Linked DNA regions of Homo sapiens: all the other regions are linked to region 3. Evidence: promoter capture Hi-C in 16 types of primary human blood cells and fetal thymus (Javierre and others, 2016). All regions are on one chromosome and are shown on one strand. The core of a region is centred on a gene start or on the middle of the fragment in contact, and the rest is flanking DNA. Distances in the headings are between cores, read along the strand shown.

The links. The method cuts DNA at HindIII sites, captures the fragments that hold promoters and counts their contacts. A CHiCAGO score of 5 or more calls a contact.
Region 1: a contact is called between a fragment that was not itself captured here and the fragment with the promoter of ST8SIA3 in region 3, in 1 of 17 cell types (endothelial precursors). The highest score is 5.5, in endothelial precursors.
Region 2: a contact is called between a fragment that was not itself captured here and the fragment with the promoter of ST8SIA3 in region 3, in 1 of 17 cell types (M1 macrophages). The highest score is 5.9, in M1 macrophages.
Region 4: a contact is called between a fragment that was not itself captured here and the fragment with the promoter of ST8SIA3 in region 3, in 1 of 17 cell types (M1 macrophages). The highest score is 6.3, in M1 macrophages.
Region 5: a fragment that was not itself captured here is called in contact with the fragment with the promoter of ST8SIA3 in region 3 in 2 of 17 cell types (endothelial precursors and M1 macrophages); the score reaches 5.3 in endothelial precursors.

The regions. Positions count from the first base shown.
Region 1 is chr18:56,857,516-56,861,389 of GRCh38, reverse strand. The region is part of intron 20 of WDR7 (WD repeat domain 7); the gene reads right to left. Among named protein-coding and RNA genes, the nearest start is that of WDR7-OT1, 180 kb to the left of the region's middle. The HindIII fragment of the contact is 4,950 bases long and covers 1-3,823 here.
Region 2 is chr18:57,025,600-57,029,814 of GRCh38, reverse strand. It overlaps WDR7 (WD repeat domain 7), which reads right to left. Exons shown (of 28, transcript NM_015285.3): 28 at 23-2,811. The coding sequence ends at 2,608. Among named protein-coding and RNA genes, the nearest start is that of WDR7-OT1, 12 kb to the left of the region's middle. The HindIII fragment of the contact is 1,476 bases long and covers 1,460-2,935 here.
Region 3 is chr18:57,349,795-57,353,970 of GRCh38, reverse strand. ST8SIA3 (ST8 alpha-N-acetyl-neuraminide alpha-2,8-sialyltransferase 3) reads right to left here and starts at 1,414. Exons shown (of 4, transcript NM_015879.3): 1 at 946-1,414. The coding sequence starts at 1,124. The HindIII fragment of the contact is 6,120 bases long and covers 1-2,771 here.
Region 4 is chr18:56,879,345-56,883,157 of GRCh38, reverse strand. It overlaps WDR7 (WD repeat domain 7), which reads right to left. Exons shown (of 28, transcript NM_015285.3): 21 at 2,993-3,214. Among named protein-coding and RNA genes, the nearest start is that of WDR7-OT1, 160 kb to the left of the region's middle. The HindIII fragment of the contact is 1,842 bases long and covers 853-2,694 here.
Region 5 is chr18:56,988,025-56,991,759 of GRCh38, reverse strand. The region is part of intron 26 of WDR7 (WD repeat domain 7); the gene reads right to left. Among named protein-coding and RNA genes, the nearest start is that of WDR7-OT1, 50 kb to the left of the region's middle. The HindIII fragment of the contact is 954 bases long and covers 1,044-1,997 here.

The DNA.
Region 1 (3,874 bases), core at 99-2,598, 490 kb after region 3:
ATAGCCTTAGTGCTGAATACAGAACACACTCTATTTGGCTTTCAGTCAATTAAGCCTTAAGCTGTCAGCAAACAAGACTTTTAAGTTAATTTTGAATCACCACGAATCAAGTTGAAGGTTGTGAAAGGGCGGCTCACACGCCGGCATGAAAAAAGGCAGTTTAATTGCCTCTGAATAGCTATTATATGCTGCAATTGGCCTATTGAATCTTAGATGATCTATTTATTTATCAAAGTGCAACCATCAAGGATTAGAAAAAGAATATAAACTGTACTTTCGCTGTTTCACGTAATTGATGTATTTTACAAAAGTATTTAAAAATTCATATTTTTAAAGCAGATTTTTTAATGTAAAACATTTGTGAAATAGAAAGCAAAACAGTTAACATAGAAATAGAGCAATTGTATTTCTAGAAAAACAAAGATATATTTTTTAAAAGATACACTTTTTACTATGTAATATTTTCATGTATTATATGATACAAACCAATGGTTTAGAACACATGTACTCCTTCATAAATATTTATATTGTAAATGTTCATGAAAAAAAAAGAGGCAGAAAAAGAATTATAAAATTGAGCTAAATCAGATTTTAAAACAACTTAATTTAACATTCCTTAGATTAACTGCATCATTAATTGTGTGAAGAAAAAGAACACCAAATACATCATTTTAATAAAGACATTTTTTTAACTAAGATTAAGGCTTAAGAAAATAGCATAATCAAATTAAAAGGATTATTATATTCCTAAACTGCATGATACTTATTTTCAAGAAAGACTGTGGTTGGTCACAATCCTAATGAGTTTTTTCCTGAAATTATTTTTTTCAATTGCATGAGATCTGGTTTATTATTATAGGGTTACTCATGAGTGCTGGATGTGTATATTGATTTTTTTATTAGAAGAGGGCACTGAAGCATTAGGTCAGTTGCGGGGAGGGAATGCTCAGATTTGTAAACAGATGTAAACATAGATCAAATTTAAGGATGGTAAAACTGAACCATTTTGCTTTAGCTGGGATGAGCTATGGTTCTTTTTTCACATTTTTACAAGTCAGTCTTTCAAGAGTAAATGTATTGAAGCATGCACTCATGATTACATAGGGAAATCATATGGAGATTAATGGCTATAAAGTATTAATGGTTATAAGAATTTAGATAGAATACGAGTTAATTTTAGTGTTCCCTCAAGAACAGTCACATATTCTTGAAAGCATGGGCCCATCATTCTGTGCTTCCAGTCAGCAGAGGCGATGGGCTTGGGAATCAGTACTGACTACCATCATTCCAGGAATTACCACACATTCGGGGGCTGAAATTCAATGAAAGAGTATGGAAACCCTTTCTCCTTCCCTCTTTTCTCATCCATTATTATAAAATACTTTTCTTGCATTTATATTCTCAAAATATCTTAGAATCATTTACTAGTTATACCCCACAAAAATCAATGCTACTAAAACCATAAAGATAAAGACATTAAAGGAGCGAATGCCTATATGACTTCCAAGGGAAACACAGGAAGGAAGCAGATGAAGTGTGAAGAGCCGGACTACCCGGGATAACACAAAGTAGAAGCCATATGAAGAAGGGATATTCTTCCTCATCATTACTAAGACGTGTTAACAAAAGACCTAAGTTCAATGGTCACAAATGTTCACTGCACATTTCATTTTATATTTGTGTATTTTATATATTTATACAAGACACAAGGTGTTCGAAATTATTTCGTTTTACTCATACAAACATCCATTTATTCAAAATGGGTGGGAAGGCATACTAGGGACTAATAACAGGGTTTCTGCCTTTTTGTACCTTACATTCAGGGGAGGAAGGCGAACACATAGACATACAAATTCCAAAGTATAATAATACTAAGAGCAAGCAAGAGAGTGACATAGAAAATAAGGCAGAAAACAATCAATTTTAGAAAGAAATCTCAAGGATAAAGAAGAACCTGAGGCACGGGTTGATAAGCTGCCCCAGTCTTGTGGCTAGGGAGTGGTGGGGCCAGGAGGCAAACCAGGCAGACCACCTCTAAAGCCAATGCTTTTACCTACTACCCTAAAGAAACAATAAAAATTAGGTATACTAAGGTGTAATAACCCTTTCCTCAAAGATATCAGAGCTTAATAGGAAAGTAAAGATAAATTAACAAATAACTGAAAACCAAGGAAGAAAGCAATACTTATCAATAAGCAAGGTCAACAACAATAAGAAAGTCATAGATATTCAGAGGAAGTTGACCTCAGTAGACAAAGGGGAGGACCTCACAACAGAAGTGTCACCCCAGAGAGGTCCCTAAATCCATTCAGATTTGACAAGAAGAAATAAGGGTGCACCTAAAGAATAAACCACAGCAGAAGTTGAATCCTATCCTGACCACCTCCCCTCATGGCCACCGTCTTCTTCATCTTTTGCTCTTCTCTAGTCTTTTGGCATAGCATCTACCATCTTCTAATATATTATAAAAAATACACTAATTTATTCTACTTACTGCCCCTCAACCCCTTCCCCCTGCAAGAAGGCAGGGGTTGAGACGACTTCTGTCATTTTGCTTGCAGATGTTGCTCAAGGGTTTAGAACAATGCCTGGCATGTAGGTGCTTAATAAATATTTGAATATTTGATGCTAAATAAATATTTGTTGAATTAATGAATCAAGCCTAGAAGCAGAACAACTCCAATTATACCTGGGAAAGAAAAACCAGTTTAATTTGGCCCAAGATAGAGATACTGAAAACAGTAAGTGGGAACTAAAGCTAGAATGTGAAGTAGGCCAGCACGGTGGCTCACACCTGTAATCCCAGCACCTTAGGGGATTGAGGTAGGAGGATCGCTTGAGGCCAAGAGTTCTAGACCAGCCTGGGCAACAGAGCGAGACCTTGTCTCTACATTAAAAAATAAATGATAAAAATCTTAAAATAAAAAAAAGAATGTGAAATAGTTTTAGAATATAGGGGTCTTCTATACCAGGCTAAGGAGATTATATTCTAAAAGCAATGACAAGCCACGGAAATTTTTGAATTATATGGTGATTATTAGGAAGATCATTCTGACAACTGTGCATTTAAGAGATTTGAGACAGAGGCAGTAGCTACTAAAAGGGTAGTGGCAGTGAACATGGAAAAGAGGAGCTATTACACAGGAATAAAAAGTCTGAGCTAAAGAGAGTGAAGAGTCAAACATAACTTTAAGGTTTCAAATCTGTACAAATGGTGCTAATAAAAATAAGTAGAATTCAAGCATAACAGCTTAAAGTAACTGAAGGCTATTCACATGGAGAAGTCTAGCAAGCAGCTGAAAGTAAAAGCCTGGAGCTCAGCAGAGAGATGAGATCTGGAGAGAGAAAGCTGGAAATGATTCCCAGTCAGGTGATAGGTAATGATGAGTGTAACAAGGAAAAGAAGAGAGGAGGGGACCAAGCAGAGAATGCTGGGGAAAACCTAGTCATGTACCAAACTGTAGGAGTTAAAAAAGGGAGTCACAGAGAAGGTAGGAGGGGACATTTCCTTTCCTACTTTCTTAGAGTGACAAACCTCTACACAGCGTTTTGGGCTGCAGGTCTGCTAGCTGGCGGTCCTCTGGGCTCCCATACTGCTTCATGCAAAGCCTCCCAGCAGCATTCACAGGCTTTTTTGTAATTTGCCACTTTCTGTCCTTTATCCCTCTATTTCCTATAGCATAATCCAGGGTGTCCCAGGGTGTGTGTGAGCATGTACACACATGCACACACACATATATGTGTATCTGAGTGTGTATATAAGACTACATGCTGGCAAAATATATATGTGTATATATGTATGCATAGGCGTGTACGTAAAGCTTTATGCTGCTGGTTGGGCACAGTGGCTCACACCTGTAATCCCAGCACTTTG
Region 2 (4,215 bases), core at 948-3,447, 320 kb after region 3:
TAATATTGTGAGAAAAACAGTCTTCAATACAATTGTTTTATTTAACACACATATGTACACAGGAACATTCAGCACACATAGAGTCTATTAAGTGGAATCATTAAGAAATGTCTGGAGAGGCAGACATTTTAATTCACTCGCTGTACACAGGGAGTTCAATCATCACATTTTCATACAGGTGTCACGTCATGTCATCTTTTGCTTGTAAATTACCAATGAAGCCACATATGTCTCTACATATACAAGGACAGGTCCAAATACAGTGCCAGTGAAATCAATAAAACATTAAAGGTGTACGCTGGGATGACAATGCAGAGTTTACCTCAGTGCTGAGAAATCTAAGCTGGGATGAAGTTTGGGACTGTGGCTATTAAAATAGCCAAGGAGAGATTTATGTTAACAAGAATGCAGATATTAGTTTAGTAGTTAGAGATGACCGTCTAATCATCAAACATCGTCCACCCCAGGGTTTTGCAGCCATAGCTTTCTACTGGCCTTGGTTGCCTGTGCAGACGGAATACGTGAAAGGCCTACCCACGCTTGTGGCCCAGGGCTATTGCTCCTCTGGGCCCCCTGGCTTTGTTCTCAACCTTCGTGGCGGGGGGAGCCATCCGTGTGTTTGCGGCAGGCTGCCTACCACTCTCACACCTCTTTCCTGACACACAGAACATTTTTGTTAAAGAAAATGCTAAGGTATACATTTACCTCATCATTCCAAATAGAGATGTAGTCTACAATAAATTAATTTCCATTTAAGTTCATAAAGTAAACATATGTTGGGTATAGAGAAGACTCTGGACCCACTGGAAAACAAAGTGAGCCTTTTACCTTACATTTCTCTAGCTATGCCAAACACAACAGCACGTTCACCAAACAAATAAAGTCTAAACTGTATAGGTCTTTGTTTCTTCCTTGGAAACTACATATATAATCTTTATAAATACAATGTACATGCATGTGCCTAAATTCACTTTTGAAAGAATACCCAACTCTAAAACCAAGGAACAGTATAGATTTGCCGTCAATGGAAATAACATCATATCATTATGAAAGAGATGATCTAATGGTCTTAATTTCTTAATATGCTCTTTAAAAATCTGTTTCAGTGAAATAACCAATGTTTGTTCCTAGACTTTGATCCTACTTTTTTGTATATCAGATAAACTCTGACAACCTAAACTTTTAAGACTAAATTCTCCCATTATCATTTTGGTTCCTTTGTAAACTTCACATATTTTCTCTGAATTTAACAAATAATTTTCTATTTTTGCATGTAATAAATGATTTTGCCCAACTAACCAACCAATCAACAATTAGGCAACCAAACAACCCCTCACAAGTATATACAGATCAAGGTTTGTTAGAAACAATTCATACAAAATATAATTCTATTTTTTTCATTATTATGAGCTAGAACCAGCACAATCTGACATAAGAAGAAAGTGGTCTAGTTAAAGCTTACTTAGAAGCATAATGAACACCCTCATTGCAATGTTTGCTCAAATAAATCGAGAGCCCACATATTTTTATATACACTCCTGAACATTTGTGCCATAGTTATTACTTTTCCAGAATACTTGTTTAAAAGAAATACCTTATTAGCTTTCCTTTAGTTGATCAGTAGTAGTTTGAAGGCTGAATTATAATAATTTCATAACTGACATATGCCACACATATGGGAACTACAGGATTGCAAGTTTTCCGGGGGAAAGGGGTAAGCTCTTTCTTCAACAGGATCTGTAGCAGTAGATAGGAGAGTCTTCATTTTCGGTACACGCTATGCTTCTGAACTTGGCTCTTTATCACAAAAGTCCCTTCAAGAGATTAGTTACAGTGACTGGATAATTACATTAACTAGATCATAGGGAGTGATTATTTTTATTTTAAACTACTAAATAGACTATCATTTAAGCAAGAGATGAGCACTTCAGAAGGCTAAGTGTCTGGAAAACTATTTTCTACAAGGAAAATATTTTTGTGTACATAATTAATCATGAATCTCAAATTGGTTAGCTGTTGATAAAGAAGGTGGTAGCTAAACCCTAGGAAATTGGATTGAGTAATTTCCTAGCAATCACCAGAAGAAAAGAACATGTAAACACAGAATCTTTTTGGTAAACAATATTTTAGGTAATTCAAAGGGCAATAATTTCAATCGTGAGGACTGCCACATGACCTCAACACCCAGTGTCAGAACGGCCAGATTCAAGCAGCACTTCAGAGGTGCGGTTGAGATGGCTAAAAATGCTGATCTGGGCTGGGAGTGCAATCACAGTGTTTATTGATTTTTGTGCTTCTGTTGCACCAAGCAACAAGAGCGTTCCCAGGAACCACTGGCTTTCCCCTGCCATCTCTGGCAGGGAAAAACTACCTGGTGACAGGATGGCCACATCCTGCAGAGCATGTGTGCGTGCCTCTGAATCGACAGATGGCACGAGCGGGTTCTGCCCCTGAGAAGCATGCACAAGTGACAAGACCCGGCCGTGCCACTGGATGGCACTGGGGTGGGCAGGCCCCTGGGAACAATCTGGTGTGAGGAAGGACAGAGCAACATCGGCTTGGATAATTTAGAGAACTAAAACGCAGTCACGGCGGCAGGCAGCAGCATTAGACCATGAAGCGGTGCTCCTTCCCGTCATGGGCCATGAGGATGACGTTGCGGTTGGAAGTCCAGATGAGCCGGGCCAGCTTGAGGGCATTGTGGGAGCCGGGGGACGCGGGCTGCACAGGGGGCACCTGGTAGGTTTTAATGCAGCGCAGCTGAGGTGCCGAGTTCAGCATGCCGATGCTTCCCAGCAGTGACGTGTTCATCTGGAGGGACAGGAGAGCACATGTGTCACTTGAACAGCCCTCTCCCTTTCCCTATCACAGAGACTGGGTCGATCTCTCCTGGCTACTTTCCCCTCCATCATGGTTATTCTCCTTCACCTAAGCTTGTTCTTAACCTCTCAAAAGTTCCTTTCAGTGTGCTTGGAATTGTTCCGATGCTGTTATGGTAAATGCAGAAATCTAGAGGAATTTTATAGGGGTAGAACCTGACAAAAGGAGAGTCCATGGATCTTTAGGAAGAGGGCTAAATTATACCTCTTAATAAAATGGTTCATTTAGACAACACAGATATTTGGAAATTGTGGATATTTAAAACTGAAGACTTTCATGTTCTTTACCACAATGCTAACTGCACTCACTCCCTGAAGGATGAGTCAGCGAAGACAAGTTTTGGGATTTGTAATTAGTTCAAGAAAAGGAAGCAAAGTTAAGCAGTAGATAGAGTGACAATTGGATCAAATAAAGCTCAAGACTCCCTTCCACCCCCATTTCCCACCTACTAATACCTTCACTCTTCACTTGCTTTTTAAAAACTCGCTTTCTGGAAAGCTCTTGCTTATTATAAAGTGCAGAACCAGAATCAATTTCATCTCAACACTATGTCTGTGCCTCACTGTTTTGCTATCATACTAAGGAGAGTCTGCTGTTAATATTTTATTGACAATACCTTTTTATCAATTGATAACTTCTGCTTTTTGGCAGTTTTTCTGGATTTAAATTTTAGGTTTTCTTAATCCAGCCACATAAATGAAAAACAACATGGAAATTATGAATCATGAACAACTATGCATTCAGGTTGAAGTACTAAATACTGAATGGTAGCTGTCTAAGTGAACTGTTTCCTAAGCAACTGAGTCTGAAGATTTCTTTAGATTCTAAATATTACTTAAAATATCTTCAATAGCATTATGTGTGCTATTATAATATCACATGGAAAGAATACTGAAAATCTGGAAAGAAGCCTTGGAAATAACACTTTTTCTTTGTACTAATTTTCATTTCCAATGCTTCTCTCCAGTATAACCTCCATCTCGATGTAAGATTCTAGAGATTTGCATGAAGCATGCAGATTATGATCCAACATCTACAAATGGTTGATCCATGAAACTCTGGCAAATCCTAGGACATTTAAGATGCGTTATCACTGACATCATCCCCTGCATGTGGATCAGTGCAAAACACAAGCCATTCCTTTTTCTAGCCCTTCTCAGCAGCAGGATGGTGTCAGAGGGCGTAAATCATGGCATCTCTAGCAGAGTGTGTGCAGGCTCCACTGACATTTTCACAATTTAAATCATCTTGAGTAATAACCCTTTTAAGATGACTAATGTTACTGATTTTCCTGCATTAATAATAGCGCTGAACACAACACAGAGGTGAAAAAAA
Region 3 (4,176 bases), core at 165-2,664:
TTCCTGCCTTAACCTCTTCCTTCCCAAACCCACGTCCGATTTCACTTCCTATAACTTGGCTGGGGACCCCCGGGGGCCGCCGGCCTACTCCGCTCCTCGGTCCAGGCGAGGCTCCTCTGGGTTCCTCGCCTCGGTCCCAGCTTGGACCACAGGTGGCACTTTGTAGTTGCCACCTGCCCGTCAGGAGGCCCTGCTGGGAGAGTTCCCGGGGTCACAGAGCGGGGCGGGGGCTCTCGCAGAGCGGCGTCAAGCTGCGCCTGGAGCCTTCACAGGCCGGCCCAGCGCGGAGCGGTGACTCCGACCTGGCGAGGGTGGGCGGCCCTTCCGAGGCTCGCTTCCCGCAGGGGGCGGGGGAATTGCAGAAATCCCGGAAAGCTGGTGGGGGGCGGTGGCTGCGGGGGAAAGGGTTGAGAGAGAACGCCCCAGGGGCTTCCTGAGAATAAACCCGCGTGTCCTTTGATAGGCGTGGGGGAGTAAAGGAGGAGGGCGCGAGGGGAGTCCGGCGCCTGCGCCATTAAACCGCCAGCACCGCCCCGGGCCCGGCCCGCGGAGTCTGCGGACAGGGCGCGGGGAGGGCGCTCCCCTCACGCCTGTCCATCTCTGCTCGCCGCCCCCTCCCGAACAAACACACCGTCTTTCCCTCCACCCTCACCCTCCTGAAAGCCTCCCCCAACCCCCATTTCTGAAATGAGGGAAGGGATGCTGAGGAAGAATACGAGAAATGCAATCACATCGATTTGGACAGCGGCTTCTAGGGGCTTTGGGTTAAAAAAAAAATAACAGGGAGGGGGAAGGGAGAATTAGAGAGAGGAGTGGAAGGACCGCGCAGTTATCTGGCCCAAAGAGTCTCGGAGAGGCCAAAACACCCCTCCCCCACGCCTTCCCTTCCCCAAACACCCCATCAACCAAATTCCCGAGGGCACTAACACAGAGGCCCGCACTCACCGGAATCCCGCGTGGAACATGTACATTCGGGGCGCCCCCGGGCTGGCGTACTTGGGAGTGGTGAAGATGTTCTCCTTTTTCAGGGACACGTAGCTGATGAGCGATAAAATCAGCAGGGCGACGCTGAGCATGACCAGCCCCAGCACACTGGCGACCCGGGCCATTTTGCAGTTTCTCATCCCGGGCTGGGCTGGGTTCAGGGAAACCGGGGAAATCGGTCCATTGAGCGGCCAGCAGCTCGCTGGCGTGTATATATGTGTGTGTGTGTGTGTGTGTGTGTGTGTGTGTGTGTGAGCGCGCGCGCGTGTGGCGGAGGAGGGGGACCCGGGCGGGGGTGGGGGGAGGCCACCGGGGCCGGGGGTTGGGGCTGGCAGGAGCCCCGGAGAGCAGCGGGACCCCGTAGGCAGGGGCGCGCGGGGCCCGGTGCCGAGCAGGAAGATGGAGGGGCTGCGCGGCGGCGTGGCGAAGGAGCGCGCAGCGCCGTGCGTCCCCGGCCGCCGGCTCAGGCTCCCCCGCGCGTTTCCAGCGAGGCTGCCATCTCCTCCGCCGCCTGCAAGATAAATGTGATTGGAATAATGTTACAGTTCGATCTAAGCACAGGATTTAATTAATGAACTCTAATCTCCCAAATAACCGGGGGGAGGGGGTGCAGGAGAGGGAGGGAGTAGAGGGAAATGGTGGAGGGAGGGGGACTGAGGCTGCCAGGCTGCAGCCCGAGCCTACGGCCTCCCCGGCTGAGGGTGCCGGCGAGGAGGTGGCTGTGGGGAGACGGGATCCCAAACTTAGTTTAATGGACCATTCATTACTTTATAATATCACGGAATAGAGAGACAAATAACCGGATTTGCTGTCCTGGAGGGTAAACAACAGCTGGGTGCTTCTCAAAGAAGCAGGGAGGATGGTTTTTGGAAGGCAGCTATTTAAAAGCATCTCCCCTCGTTAAGGCACCGCCCCGGCCCCCTGCCCCCGCCATCCTCCCACCCCAAAGGAAGCTCCAAACAGCAACTGGGCCTGCCTGCCTCGGGAGCCCTTAAAACCTTCTTGGAATTTGCCAGAATGACTCCCCTGTGCGCCTTGTATGCCCACCACATACTTCACTTATCCCTAAAGGGTGGGTAGTGCCTAGCAAAGTTGCGAGGTGACCTGTGAGTCGGGAGGGCCTGCCTTCCTCTCCCCTTTCCGTCTTCCAGTGGATGGACAATGTGCTTGCCCCTGACTTGACTGGGCCTGTTGAAGTCAGCCCTGGTTTAACTCTCCGTTGCCCACTCTTCAGATCCATCCTTCGGGCCTGGTCTCCTGATGGGCTAGGTGGCCTGAGCCTCCCAAAAGCTGAGGCCATTAAAAAACACAGAACTTTTTATGAAGCAGCCCAAGAACCAAATAATAGAGGCTGCCTCTGAGAGTGGAAGGCAAACGCACTAACACTTTGCATTGCTTGACCTTAAATTTATTTTAGCATATTCACGTGTTTCTTGTATATCCATTAGAAATACAAATTAATCCATTTTCAGTCATGCAGTTGGGTGCTCAGGGGAAACTAGCATGTTTCTTTAGCTCTGTCCTTTGCAATTAGCTTATGGCCTCTGCTACCCTAGCTTTACTCTTCGCTTGGTCCTCCCAATACTAGTTAATAAGCACTAATGAGGGAAGCTAGGGGTGAGAAATTGGCGTTTGAGTTCTGATAAAACAAGTTGAGATTCTTCCAAGATGGTTATGACTTCTTTCTCTCCTGAACTTCTTGCCTTGTAGGCTTTCATGGACCTAATGTTATTATCTGTCTGGAGGCTGTAAATTCCTTGAAGGGGTGAGCTCCTGGATTGTAAGCTTCGGCAGAGCAAGGCTTGTCTTACTTCTCCAATACTGTCTCTTACACATGTCATGCTTGCTAAATGTTTGAAGACCTGATGAGCTCCCTTGGGAAACATATCTGTGTGGTTGTGGACAGTGGCACAAAGAATGCTCCTATTTGTTTCCAGTGACAAAGGGGGTCACTTTGCACCCACTAGAGACTTTTTAACCAAAATCTAAAAGTGTGTGTCAGGAGGACACAAATAACCTCCTTTCCTCTGTGGGGCTTTTTTATTATTTAAAAAAATTTAGAAAAGGCTTGCATGCCTGGATATGATGAACACTTGAACTGTATTTTTTTAAATTGCTATTTTTTAAAAATGATTGTATGAGTAAGGTGTAAAATGCCAAAGGGAGTAAGATCTTAAGAGAGCCATCTAGGAATGACACCTGTTAGAAAAAGTCTTCTTGAACCAGAAATCAGGAAACATGCTATGGAGAGGCAGCCTGGGGTAGTGTTACACCTTCAGACTGTGGAGCCAGAAAGACCTGACTTCAAAAGCATACTCTGGGTATTATCAAAAACACAAAAAATAACAAATGCTGGCAAGGATGCAGAGAAAAGGGAACTCGTATACACTGTTGGTGGGAATGCATTCTAGTACAGCCACTATGGAGAACAGTACAGAGGTACCTGAAAAAAACTACAAACTGAACTATTATAAGATCCAGTATTCCCATGACTGGGCGTTTATGCAAAGGAACGGAAATCAGTATGTCAAAGAGATATCTACCACCATGTTTATTGCCACATTGTTCACAATAGCCAAGATATGGATCAACCCAAGTATTCAACAACAGATGAATGGATAAAGAAAATGTGGTATATATACATAAAGGAATCCCATTCATCCATAAGTAAGAATGAAATTCTGTCATTCTCAGCAACAGGAATGAGCCTGGAGGACATTATGTTAAGTGAAATAAGCCAGGAACAGAAAGTTAAACACCGCATGTTCTCACTCATACACAGAAGCTAAAAAAGCTGATCTCAAAGAAGTAAAAAGTAGAACAGAGAATACTAGAGGCTGGGAAGTGTACGGGGGAGAGAGGATAAAATATTTATTAAAGGATACAAAATTACAGCTGGATAGAAGGAATAAGTTCTAGTGTTCTATAGCACTATAGGATGACTATAGTTACAATAATGTATTGTATATTTTCATATACCTAGAAGAGAAGATATTGAATGCCCCAAAACAAAGAAATGATACAAGTTTGAAATGACAAATATGCTAATTACCCTGATGGGATCACTATGTATTGTATGTATCAAAATATCACTATGTACCTATATATGTATGATTATTATGTATCAATTAAAATAAATGCTTACTCTGGCATCCACAGCCAGGTGACCTTGGGTAAGTTACAACTTCTCTG
Region 4 (3,813 bases), core at 524-3,023, 470 kb after region 3:
GCTCACTGCAAGCTCCACCTCCCAGGTTCACGCCATTCTCCTGCCTCAGCCTCCCGAGCAGCTGGGACTACAGGCGCCTGCCACCGCATCTGGCCAATTTTTTGTATTTTTAGTAGAGATGGGGTTTCACTGTGGTCTCAATCTCCTGACCTCCCGATCCACCCACCTCGGCCTCCCAAAGTGCTGGGATTACAGGTGTGAGCCACCGCGCCCAGCCGTTCCTACATTTATATACAGATATTTGTACTAAGCAATGGAAAAATTCTAAATGAAACAGCATTTATTTTCACTCTCCTTGCAGGAAAATATCAAATACAAAAGGATGGTGTTGAGAAATTACACAAAATATGTTAGACTTAATCAGTGGTCTTCAAAATAGGTAACCCTCTTCAAACAGGAGTATATTAAAAGTTTCAAGGAATAGGTAGTTTTAGAAGCACAAACAGTTTAAGACCTAGGTATTTTAAAGGAATTGATTTCTGGGTGCTAAATTTGCTAATGAACTCCTTCCCTAAAACTGTGAGGGTAGAAATTTCCACTTCAAAGAAAATAATAAAGGATTTAAGATTTCTGATTTTTAATGGGAAGTTTGTTCAGGTATTTATTAAAAATTGATGATGATGGATATGAAATAGTTAAATATTCTACTGAATATATTAGAAAGAGCCATAAGTTTTATTTTTAAACATCAATATTCACAATCTCCTCAAGATACTGTGAAAATATATTTTGCAATTAAAAAGTTGTAGCTGTCAACATAAAATGTGCAAAGGATTAGACATTTCTTGACACTCTCAGGGAGTTATTGAGCAAAAAAGTTTGAAAGCCACCACACCAAATCATGTCAAAGCTTCATTAACCTCTAATAGTCTAATGCCAAACTTCTAAATAAGGACCTGCTCTACATATGTTAAGTCCTGGGCTGTCTGAAGTGACAGATAAGCTAGACTAATTAAAGAGCCCTTTGTAGAAATGGTGAGATTTAAGCAAGGTTTTAGGAATGGATAGCAGGGATCTTGAAGAACTTGAGAAAAGATAAATAAGCCCGAGTGGGGAGGTAGGAGCCAGTAAGCATGTAGTTGTTGGCCGTAGAGGGAGAGTAATGTGCCCAGGTGGAGAAGGGAAACGGTTCTCAGGTCGCAAGACACTTGAGTTCAAGTTTAGGTTTTACTACTTTTTGGCTGAGTCACTTTGAAGAAGTCTTAAGTTCATTTTGAAGATCAAATGAGGGGAAAGACAGGAAAGAAAGTGTTTTTTAAATTGTAAAGTTATAGCCAGGTGCAGTGGCTCATGCCTGTAATCCTAGCACTTTGGGAGGCTGAGGTGGGTGGATCCTTTCTGGTCAGGAGTTTGAGGCCAGCCTGGCCAACATGGGGAAACCCCGTCTCTATGAAAAATACAAAAATTACCCAGTCATCGTGGCCTACACCTGTAATCCTGGCTACTTGGGAGGCTGAGGCAGGAGGTTGCAGTGAACCAAGATCATGCCACTGCACTCCAGCCTGGGTGACAGAGAGAGACTCTGTCTCAAAAAATAAAATAAAATAAATCAATAAATTGTAAAGTTACAGCACATATTAGTCATTAAGCCCTTTCCAACTGGGAGCCACTGAATAGCAGCAGTTTGCATAATGGTCAAAAGCATGAACTCTGGAACAACAGACTAGATGGAAACAAAAACTCCTTTCCCAGAGGTATGATCCTTGCCAGGTTAACTAAACCTCTCTATGCCCCACCAGCTTTATGCATAAAATCGAGATAAGAGGGATCCACTTTACAGGGTTATTATGAGGATGAAGTGAGGTAATGCATGTAAAGAGCTAAAAAAAAATAGTGCTCATAATAGTTGCATCATTATGGTTGGTGGTGGTATTGTTTAAATTTAAACGTTATTACTCTGATTCTCAAACTGAGATCAAGAGATTATCACTAATAAGTATTTGTTGAATGAAGTCTTTCAAAAAACAGTTATAGGAGGGGCAGCTAAGTCTATTGAAGGGCTTTTATAATAAAAGTCACTAACATGGCCCTCAGTTTTACAGCAAGAGTATGTGGCAATGGTCCAGTGAAGTTCACTGCTGTCATAAATAACAAAGTAACATGCATCTTTTTCTCTTGCTTAAAGGCCAAAAAAGCAAAAGGATCTATTGCATTTTGTTCTACAAGAATATTTTGTGATGTATTCAGTTGGACTATATTTGTTCCTTAAGAGGACACAATTTATTAGAAATAATTTTGCTATATGGTGCCACATGCCACTCTGACCTTACTGAAAGGAATTCTGACACTGAAGAACCAAAAGAGCTTATTTTAAAGCACCCTTACCTATTATTAACATACCAAGCACAGAACCAAAGAGAGTAGAATGACACAGCCCTTTGAATTTTGATTGTTATAGTCTATAGTCATTTAAAAACTGTTACTGGAATATTTTTTAAATTACAGGGTTAATTCATAATTCATCATGTATGCTCTTTTTCATAAACCCATGTATTATTTATATGTATTATCACATATACAAATTTATTAATATGCCCATTAATTTAACAAATATGTGTTGAGAATTTATTTATTGAAAGGAGAATGAATATATTTTCTTTTCAAAAGAAAAGACTGGTGTTCCACCCCAGTCCTGACTTTTCAAACCACATTCAGAACAAACTGCATAGTTTTCCAGAAATTATTTTAAAAGCTTTAACTTGAATCTAGCTTTCATAAATTCTGGCTAAAATCTTGACGAACAATGCAAAAATACAAAGGTCAGAAATGTGTTATTTTAAGAATAGCATTTAAAAGACGATGTTTTAACTTTTAAAAAGGAGTTCAGGTTACTGTAACTAACGGGAAATGTGCCAGATTGTACTGCTTTCTAACTTCACGCAAGCAATCTAAATGAGCTAAAACTCAGGATATAGTCAATGTTATGAGATTTTGCTGACAAATAATATGTATTCAGAAGCAACAGATCAGCATTAGAAGTTTTAAAACTTACAAGTATGTCTGGCCAGCGAGTAGTTGGATCCACCACTAGTCAACCCGAATCCCTCAGGAATTTGGCTAGAGCTTCGAGGTCTGGTCAATAGTTTAGGAGGTTCAATTTCAGCACCAAATTCAGCTCCTATTACTCCAAGTAAAACAATAGCGGTAGCTTGCTTCCGTCTTTCCTCGTAAGATGTAGAAATTTTTTTCATTTGTGGGACACTTGATAAGCAACCTGAAGACCAAAACATAGAATCTCAACTTAGAACAAATCAATATACAAAAAGACACATGATTAGAAAAACATTCAGGACTGCACGTTCGGAAAGAATAGCATTTTCAGCAAATGGCACTAGGACAAATGGTTACTCACAGGCAAAAGGATGAATTTAGACAGACCCCTATCTCTAACCTTCCAAAAAAAAACCTGAAAATTGATCATAATCCTAAATATAACAGCTAAAACAAAAAACAACTCTAAGAAGGCAACATAGGTGTATATGTTTGTAATTCTGGATTATATAATGATTTCTTAGATATGATACCAAAAGCACCAGTAATTTTTTAAAAATTTTACATAGGATTTCATCAATACTAAAAACTTTTGTGCTTGAAAAGACAGAATCAAGAAAGGATAAAGACAACCCACAGAATCAGAGAAACTATTGTCAAATCACCTATCTAATAAAAATTATTTCCAGAATATATAAAAACTTTCATGACTCAATAATAAGAACAATCTGAATAGATATTTTTCCAAAGTTGTATGAATGGTCAACACGCACATGAAAAGATGCTAAACATCATTAGTCATGAGGAAAATGCAAAGCAAAA
Region 5 (3,735 bases), core at 271-2,770, 360 kb after region 3:
AAATAATATCTTGGGCTGTTGCCAATAAGCCACATTTCAAATAAAGGTATCAGTTATGGAGAGTTCAACAAAGACAGATTCCTTTTTCTTTCTTACTCTATAATCACTCACACTTCCAAATCCATAGCTATGGACTGCCCACAGGCTCAGTGTTGTCCATAAACCTGTTTTGTTTGGTCCACATAATGTCTAAAATTTTTAGAGTTCTTTTTTCCCCCCAACAGGGTTAGGCAATCTCTAGTCTCATGGTCCCTTGCCTCCTTCAGGATTACTCCAACTCTCATTTGGCCAGTTTCTCCAATATTTAAAAAATGAGGCCGGGCATGGTGGCTCATGCCTGTAATCCTAGCACTTTGGGAGGCCAAGGCAGGCGGATCACGAGGTCAGAAGATCGAGACCATCCTGGCTAACACGGTGAAACCCGTCTCTACCAAAAATACAAAAAATCAGCCGGGAGTGGTGACGGACGCCTGTAGTCCCAGCTACTCGGGAGGCTGAGGCAGGAGAATGGCATGAACCCAGGAGGCGGAGCTTGCGGTGAGCCGCGATCGTGCCACTTCACTCCAGCCTGGGCGACAGAGCGAGACTCCGTCTCAAAAAAAAAAAAAAAAAAAAATGAGGAGAAGGTGTACGGTAGCTAGTAAGAGGTGGTGCTATCTTCATAAGTTGTGTCCAAAGCTGAGAAAGGCACATGCCCTGACTTTCATCACAGGAGAACAGGCAGTGAGCAACCCAACCTGAATGGGAACTGAATGGAATGAGAATCAGTCTAGTACCTAACAATACAATTTGGTGTACTAGTGAGGTAGTAAGTAGTTGTTGGGTTTAGGAATAAGTGAGGAAAGAAGAGAACCCGGAATGGGGAAATGGCATATGCAAAGGTCCTGGGGTGAGAGAGAAAAGCTGAGATTGAAATAACAACAACAAAAAGTCAGCTGGTGTAGCCTGAGCACAGAGGCTGCAGGGGAGAGCCTGGTGAGAAAAAGCTGGAGCAATAGGTAGGAGGGTAAGACAGAATAACTATGGTATATATAAGTAAAGCTTACCTCCTAAGTATTATTAGTAATATAAACATTTACATCAACTCAGCCTTTATAATATTTGCATTTTAAAATCATGATGGAAACTTTTCCAAGTGTACAACAGCAGACAGAATAGTACCTATAATGAACCTCTGTGTACCCTTTGCCCAGCTTTAGCATAATTTTGCTTCATCCAGGTTCATCTTCTTTTTCCCCCTCTCATATTGTTTGAAAGAAAACCTTAGAAATCATATGTTCTCATCTATAGGATGTTTGTTTTTAATGTAACTTCCTACTATTGTGAAAAAGAAGTTTAAAATGAAACGTAAAGGTGGAGTGAGGTGGCTCTCACTAGGCTCTGGAGAAGCACAAGGATTCCCATATGGGCTTTTGGTCCACAGCACCTCTGATTCCCTGATTGCTCCAAGTTCCTTTCCTGCTAGGCAACACTGGCAGCAGCTTCTACTGCCACTCACCTAAGGACTTCAGGTCTTTGTTTCAGACAGTTTTACCTGCCATGAATGGCAATGCAGTTCACGCAATGAAAGGAGAATTCTTGGGTCTTCAGCTCTGTGCCCTTTGGTTTCCTGGATTTAATTCCAAATTCTATGCTTTTATATACCAGCAATTTTGTTTATAGTTTTCTGCTTAGGATGGCCTAATCTTTTTAAAAACCAAAATTAATTAAAAAATAGGAATAGTAAGGAGTCAGCTTATGCTTTAAGAAGTGTTAACTTTCCACTTAAAGAAAGACATTAGTTTTACATGGTCCTGTTTGCTCATTTAGTGGACACTTACTATAGACTTGGGTTTGATAAATATTTTAGTTTAAAATCCAAAGACTGTTTTAAGAATGAACAAACTCAGCCATGTAAGTGATGAAGGCTGGGTGCCATCGAGAGAGCAGTCAAGGTTTAAATAATATTCTGGACATTTTCAATGTAGGAACTGTACCTACGGGAATAAAGGTAAGCTTGGAAACTTATAATTCTTATTAAGAAAAAAATACTCTATTGAGACAAATAAAATTACAGGTATAATCAAGTATCATAAGTTATTTAAAAAATAAGCACCAAAAGTCCTGGCATTTTTGGTTGATAGAAATTCTTCCTAAAAAAGTCTTTCACTTCGCCAGGGAAGTTATTATTTTAATTTCATAAGTAGATTAATAGTTTCAGCATGCATTAAATGCCTAACTACTTGACAAGACCTTCTGAAAATTGCATACAAATTAGAGTAGAAGTTGTACTAAGAAGAATTTTAAATCTCTATAAAATGAACAGACTCTTCCAGTTCTTATTTGAACATCAAAAGATAAAAAAGACCATCAAAGAAACTAATTACTTGGAAAAAATATCATTTTTTAAAGCCATAAGATAATTCATTTATTGGAAATTTTGTGAGGAGCTTGAGAAAAATTAACTTTCAAGGATTTTCTTTAGAATATGACATCTAAGTAAAACAAAGAACTCAACTCCTCAGTCTTATTAGCCACATATGGCTAATGGCTATCACACTGGAGAGTACAGACACAGAATATTTTTATCATCACAGAAAGTCCTAATGAATAATGTTGCTTTAGAAGACACAGTTAAATTCATGCTGAAAACATTATAAAATTAGCCATGGTATTCTCACCATTTTTTTTTTTTTTCAAAAAACCATACACACATATACTCCTGAGAGTTATATCTAAAAGGTGGCATCTTTTTCTCCTTTAAGAGTCAAACCAAAATTACTGTAGATAATTCAATTTTTTTCTGTTAAATACCAAATCAGAGCCAATATAAAAAAACATAAATTATTCTTCCCTGAAATATAATCAATTTACAAGAAACCGGAACAAAAACAAGGCTACAAAACTAACATTTTTCTCCATCCCCCTCTCCCTTGGTCTATTATTAACTGTGATAATTGCAAATAAGTTAAAAAGAATTTCCTAAACCAAACATCCAATTAATATTCCCTATAGAACTTCCAACTATTTAATAACTTTTTTTGAATTAAAGCACAACCATGCTTCTTCTGAATTTATAAGAATGCCCAATTTTTTTTATTGGAGTAGGGTCTATTAACTGCTGCAAAATTGCGACGACTCTATACACACACACACACACACACACACACACACACACACACACACACACTTGCCTTCCATGAGGTCTTTCTTCTGAGGAAACTTACCTTTAAAAAATAAATTTATATTTTTTTCAAAGATGTACTTGCATGTTCAACTGATACCACTTAAACAATAAAATAAAAGCTTATGGGTTTAAACTTTGGCTTATAAATCTGAGACCTGAACTAACAATTTTATAGAAGCACCAATTTGGATTGGCTGAGAAGGTGGGCAAGGAAATGTCAATTTTGCCTCAACTGGAGTGCTGCACACAGGCAGCAATGATATCAATGAGCAGCAATGTGGTATGTTTATCATGAGATAATCACACCCCTAGAGGTTTAGAAGCACTCAGCTGAACCTTATGCCTCACAACACACTTGGGGTGTCATTATCTCATGATAACCATACTCCCTGTCAAGCCTTATTGCTTAATTAGGGGTTACGAAGGTGATAAGACTAAAAGAAATCGGATGAACAGTACCTAAGATGAATGATACCTTAATCAACTTAAATCTGGTGGCTGAAGGAGGCGTGATGAACAGACACAATGAGTTACATGTTATTTTTAGAGAAATTTGTTAATAATAAATG